Linked DNA regions of Homo sapiens: region 2 is linked to region 1. Evidence: promoter capture Hi-C in human tissues and cell types (Jung and others, 2019). All regions are on one chromosome and are shown on one strand. Each heading gives the region's core, a stretch centred on a gene start or on the middle of the fragment in contact. The rest is flanking DNA. Distances are from core to core; before and after follow the strand shown. Region 1 holds the start of WNK2 (WNK lysine deficient protein kinase 2). Region 2 overlaps MIRLET7A1HG (miRlet-7a-1/let-7f-1/let-7d cluster host gene).

Region 1 (2,755 bases), core at 144-2,643:
CTCTGGGCTCATGCCAGCGGACTTGAGCCCCGGAATGAATGCCTGTCTCACACGGTAGATTAGATTATATAAATAACAGGCAAGTGCCAAATGCATAGCCCTACACCTAGCACACTATTTAACCACTGGCTCTCTGGGGAGAAAAGTCCTGATTTGAGGTGTTTGCCAATTTCCGCAGTGTAAATACTCCCAGCATTGCTGACTTCAGGCTACAGGGTGGCATTGCTGAACCCAGAGCTGGGAAGGGATGTTCACTGTTGCCCCTCACAAATTAGTTTCAGCCAGTGCCAGTGCCCAGCGGGGCTCCAGGAAGTCCTGCTTCTCTGGGTAACAGTTGGCCTGGCATATTCTTCCCTCTACATTGTGAAGGTGAGATATCGCCTCTGCTGGCTTTTATGCCACATGAGTTATTTTGTGCCAGGGGCTCCAAGGCCTACAGGCCCACAAGCATCTTTTCATCTCTGGAAGTGTGTGTGTATCTGATGGGGGTGCCAGCCCAGTGGGATGGGGACTGAGATGAGAATACTCTGGTATCTCCCTTGTGCCTCAGTTTCCTCACCTAGGATCATGGAGGCTGGGGTAAGGGTGAAGTGTTAGCTCAGGGCATTGCCTGGAGCAGGGCTCAGAACTTAGCAGTATGGTTACTGACACAGGTCACCTGCTGCATTAGGGCCAGAGACGCCCAAGAGAGGGCTTGTCCGTGGGGGTCTAGAGGAGGAAGGAGCTAGAGATCATGGAAGACTTCTCGGGAGAGGTGGCATCTGGCAGAGGTGGGAAGGAAGAACACTTTGGGTCAAGGGGCTTCTGGAAGCCTCTCCATATCCCATCCAAGGCATTCCAGCTCAGCTTCGGTCTTGAAAGTTCTGGGATTTAGAGCATATAACTTCTGCCTTTGGCGCCTCAGTTTGCTCTAGACTGTGAAATGGGCATAATGATCACCAGTGCCTCCCTGGGTGATGATGAGGTCCTCATGGTTCCTGGTGGTGAAGTGAGGGCAGGAAAGGACACGCTGAGCCCCACCAGGCTTAGCCCCAGGCTGGGCTCCCGAGGGCGGCGGTACCCCTGGTCCTTTTCTTCCTAGCCTGCCCATTCTGTCCTGGCACAGGGCCTTGAGGTCTAGCGCGCCGGGCTGCGGCGTGCTGAGGCGTTGAGCCTGCTGCCTCCTCTCAGGAAGAAACGGGGTCCTCCGCAGCTGACAGCCCTGCGGGGCGTTCCAAAGAACTTCAGAGGACAGGAGCGCTACCTCGAGCAAAGAACCGCGGGTGGGAGCCCAGGTAGCCGGCCCGCAGGTGGCCGCGCGCGCCTGCCAGTCAGCCAGCCCGTCCGCAGCCAGGTGGGCGTGCCAGGCCCAGCCCCCTGCGCCGGTCCGGGGCGGGGCGAACGGAGCCCCGCCCTCCCCGCGCGCCGGGTCGGAGCCGGTGCGGGAGCGGAGCCGCGCGAAGCCGGCAGGAGCACGCGGGAGCGCGGCCCCGCAGTGGCCCGGCCCGAGAGAGCAGCGCGCAGGAGCTGGAGCGGCGCCACGGCCCCCACCCCAGCGCGGACCTCGCCCGGAACTCGGACCCCGTCCTCGAAGCGTGATCTCTCCCGCCTCGCACGCCCTGGCCGCCGGGCCGCGGGCATGGACGGCGTCCGCTCGCCCTGTGAGTGCCGAGCCTCCCCTCAACGCCGCTCGCCGCCTTTGTGTGCGCGCCGCGGCGCTGCAGCCCCCTCCCCGCGCGCCCCTCCCGCGCCCCGGGCCCGCGTCCTTTGTGGAGCCGCCGCCGGGCCACTGCCTTCCTCCCACCCCCGGGCTTCCCTATCCCCTTTACAGCTGCCTCCGGGACAGCCTAGCAGAACCCTCCTGGGCCAGGGCTGGGCAGGGCGCGAGATCCCTCTGCCGGCCTCCGGGGCCCTCAGGGACACCCTAGCAGGTCCTCTCTCCCAGGGTTCCAGGGACACCACAGGCCCGTCCCTCTCCGCAGCCTGGGGCTGAGCAGGGCACGGACCCCTCCTCCCCAACCCAAGCCTCTGGTCCCGTCTGCAGCCCCCCTTTCCCAGGGCCCCCAGAGACGGCCCCCGCAGGCTCTCTCCGCGGCCGGGGCTGGGCAGGTTGCGGGCTTAGGGCGGCGTTGTCTCATCCGGCGGCCTGGGCAGGTGCGGCAGGGCCGGCGCTCACGCGGGCCTGTGTGTCCTTGGCCCACAGAGATGGACGGCGATGGCGGCCGCCGAGACGTCCCCGGCACGCTGATGGAGCCCGGGCGCGGCGCGGGGCCCGCGGGCATGGCGGAGCCTCGGGCGAAGGCGGCGCGGCCGGGGCCCCAGCGCTTTCTGCGGCGCAGCGTGGTAGAGTCGGACCAGGAGGAGCCGCCGGGCTTGGAGGCAGCCGAGGCGCCGGGCCCGCAGCCCCCGCAGCCCCTGCAGCGCCGGGTGCTTCTGCTCTGCAAGACGCGCCGCCTCATCGCGGAGCGCGCCCGCGGACGCCCCGCCGCCCCCGCGCCCGCAGCGCTGGTAGCGCAGCCGGGAGCCCCCGGAGCCCCCGCGGACGCCGGCCCCGAGCCCGTGGGCACGCAGGAGCCCGGCCCGGACCCCATCGCAGCCGCTGTCGAAACCGCGCCTGCCCCCGACGGCGGCCCCAGGGAGGAGGCGGCGGCGACCGTGAGGAAGGAGGATGAGGGGGCGGCCGAGGCGAAGCCTGAGCCCGGGCGCACTCGCCGGGACGAGCCCGAAGAGGAGGAGGACGACGAGGACGACCTCAAGGCCGTGGCCACCTCTCTGG
Region 2 (2,755 bases), core at 73-2,572, 1.0 Mb after region 1:
CAAGAGTTCTGACATTACTGAGCTGTTGAGTCAATGCCAGCATCTGCTCTCCTCTACACTTTGTATTATATGAGAAAAATGAACTACCTTATAGTGAATGGGGGTTATGAGACTTGCAGGGAAAAGCTCTCCTCACAGGATCCCACATAGGGAAGTCCAGGGAAAGCCCCTAAATGTGAGGGAAGAGGAAAGGTGCTAAGGGGCCATCAGGAAGAAGCCTATGGCTTAGATAAGGATGGTAGACAATGGATCTCTGACATCTGTAGCAGGACCCTGAACGTGAGCATGAACATGAAGTGGTAAGAGGCTGATGGCAAGACCACATTTCTGAAACTGGGATCTTACAAGTGGCAGGCAGCAAGGACCAAGCTCAAGACAGTATGGACCAAACAGTAAGGACACCCCTTCTTAGTGCTGACATGAGTTAAGCCCTTTGGAAATTTAGATCCTCTTGAATTTGATAAACTAACTCTCCTAAAAACTGCTTTAAATCGAGACAGTTCTCTTAAATGGATGAAATTTCAGTGTTCTGCCATTAGTAGACATGGGGGCTCAAGATACTCGGCAACAAAAGTTTTTGTTACATTTTTGCTCTCTTGAATGGCAACTGTAAACTTTGAACCTCTGCAGTTACCCTAATGCAGAACTTATTATTTATAGACTTTTTGATGATTTACAATGAAATACTGATATAGAAACAGATGTTTAAAAGAAAACTGTATAGCTTGTCTCACTTAAGTAACGTAGCCTAAGTTTCTTAAACCCAAGATCTCATTTTAGCTACCTAGGTATATTGTCCAGAGTACTGAATATGAGCACATTTCACATGACAGGCTCTTAAATGCAAGTGTGTGTGCGTGTATGTGTCTGTGGTGTGTGTGTGTGTGTGTGTAGTCCTTGCATTGCCTGGCATCTTGTTACAGTAATTCATGCACATAAGAACCATGTCCTTGCTTTGCCTTGCCTGGTAGAGAACTATGCAAAGCAAGAACAAGGCTCCAGTATGAACAAGTTTGTATTAGCATGGTATCATGAAATGTAAGAACTCCCTGTGTATGCTGTATGTACCCTTTCCTTCTTAAAATATGCCCAGCACCCTTCTATGTCTTTGTCTTCTCATTAGTCTTGGAAATACTGGTCATAGGTCCTCATGGGGAACTAACTTCTCTAAGCTTTCAGGTTGTATCATCCAGCCCATTGGCAGCTACTTAGGAAGCTTTTTATACTCTACCCTGAAGTGTGGTGTTTTAACTAGGTCTGAAAGCAGAGGAGTGACCCAGTAGAGGGTCACTGACCAAAATGAGAAATGAGGTGGTTGAGAAAATCTGAAAAGATGCACAAGGTTTCAGGTATAATACATTTGTCTAATATCTCCCAAGATTGCAAATAAGTTTCCCTAAGTAGTCTTATGATTATTTTATTATCTTGGGCACTTCAGTATAGGGGAAAGAAGGGCAGAGTATGGTGAATGGCAGAGCAGAAGATGCCTAAATAGTTGGGAAAAATAATCCTGTGACTGGAAAACTGCATTAAAAATAATATCTGGCCAGGCGCGGTGGCTCACGCCTGTAATCCCAGCACTTTGGGAGGCTGAGGCAGACGGATCACGAGGTCAGGAGATCAAGACCATCCTGGCTAACATGGTGAAACCCCATCTCTACTAAAAATACAAAACAAATTAGCCGGGCATGGTGATGGGTGCCTGTGGTCCCAGCTACTCGGGAGGCTAAGGCAGGAGAATGGTGTGAACCCGGGAGGCGGAGCTTGCAGTAAGCCGAGATCATACCACTGCACTCCAGCCTGGGTGACAGAGTGAGACTCCATCTCAAAAAATAATAATAATAATAATATCTTGTTGATACATCCTTCTTTTGTGATTGGGGGAAATGGTGACTTAATCCCTAAAGGAATCATGTAATATGTAGACCTTTGAATATGGCTTTTTTCATTTAGCCTGTTTTTAAGGTTCATTCTTGTTGTGATATATATATTTTTGAAATAGGTTCTCACTCTGTTTTCCAGGCTGGAGTGCAGCATTGTGATCTTGACTCACTGCAGTGTCGACCTCCTGAGCTCAACTGTTTCTTTATATTTCTGAGTAGTATTTTCTTGTATAGATATCAAATCTTCTTTATCTTCTTTTTTTTTTTTTTTTTTTTTTTTTTTAGACAGAGTCTCGCTCTGCACACCCAGGCTGGAGTGCAGTGGTGCTATCTCGGCTCACTGTAAGCTCTGCCACCCGAGTTCACGCCATTCTTCTGCCTCAGCCTCCCGAGTAGCTGGGACTACAGGCGTCCGCCACCACGCCCAGCTACTTTTTTGTATTTTTAGTAGAGGCAGGGTTTCACCATGTTAGCAGGGATGGTCTCGATCTCCTGACCTGGTGATACGCCCACCTCGGCCTCCCAAAGTGCTGGGATTACAGGCGTGAGCCACCGCACCTGGCCTTTTTTTTTTTAATTTTAATTTTTTTTTTTTTTATGTTTTTGAGATGGAGTCTCACTCTGTCTCCCAGACTGGAGTGCGGTGGCATGATTTTGGCTCACTGCAGCCTCCACTTTCCAGGTTCAAGCCATTCTCCTGCCTCAGCCTCTGGAATAGGTGGGATTACAGGCGCTTGCCACCACGCCTGGCTATTTTTATGTTTTTAGTAGAAACGGGGTTTCCACATGTTGGCCAGGCTGAGGTCAAACTCCTGACCTCAGGTGATCCACCTGCCTTGGCCTTTCAAAGTGCTGGGATTACAGGCGTGAGC

Evidence for each region. The method cuts DNA at HindIII sites, captures the fragments that hold promoters and counts their contacts. A contact is called where the count stands out against the background at its distance.
Region 2: a fragment that was not itself captured here is called in contact with the fragment with the promoter of WNK2 in region 1 in 1 of the 25 tissues and cell types used here (spleen).

The regions. Positions count from the first base shown.
Region 1 is chr9:93,182,746-93,185,500 of GRCh38, forward strand. It overlaps WNK2 (WNK lysine deficient protein kinase 2), which reads left to right and starts at 1,394. Exons shown (of 30, transcript NM_006648.4): 1 at 1,394-1,640; 2 at 2,183-2,755. The coding sequence starts at 2,185. The HindIII fragment of the contact is 13,924 bases long and covers 1-2,755 here.
Region 2 is chr9:94,183,471-94,186,225 of GRCh38, forward strand. The region is part of intron 4 of MIRLET7A1HG (miRlet-7a-1/let-7f-1/let-7d cluster host gene); the gene reads left to right. All of the region lies in intron 2 of LINC02603 (long intergenic non-protein coding RNA 2603), which reads right to left. Among named protein-coding and RNA genes, the nearest start is that of MIRLET7D, 6.0 kb to the left of the region's middle. The HindIII fragment of the contact is 5,249 bases long and covers 1-2,755 here.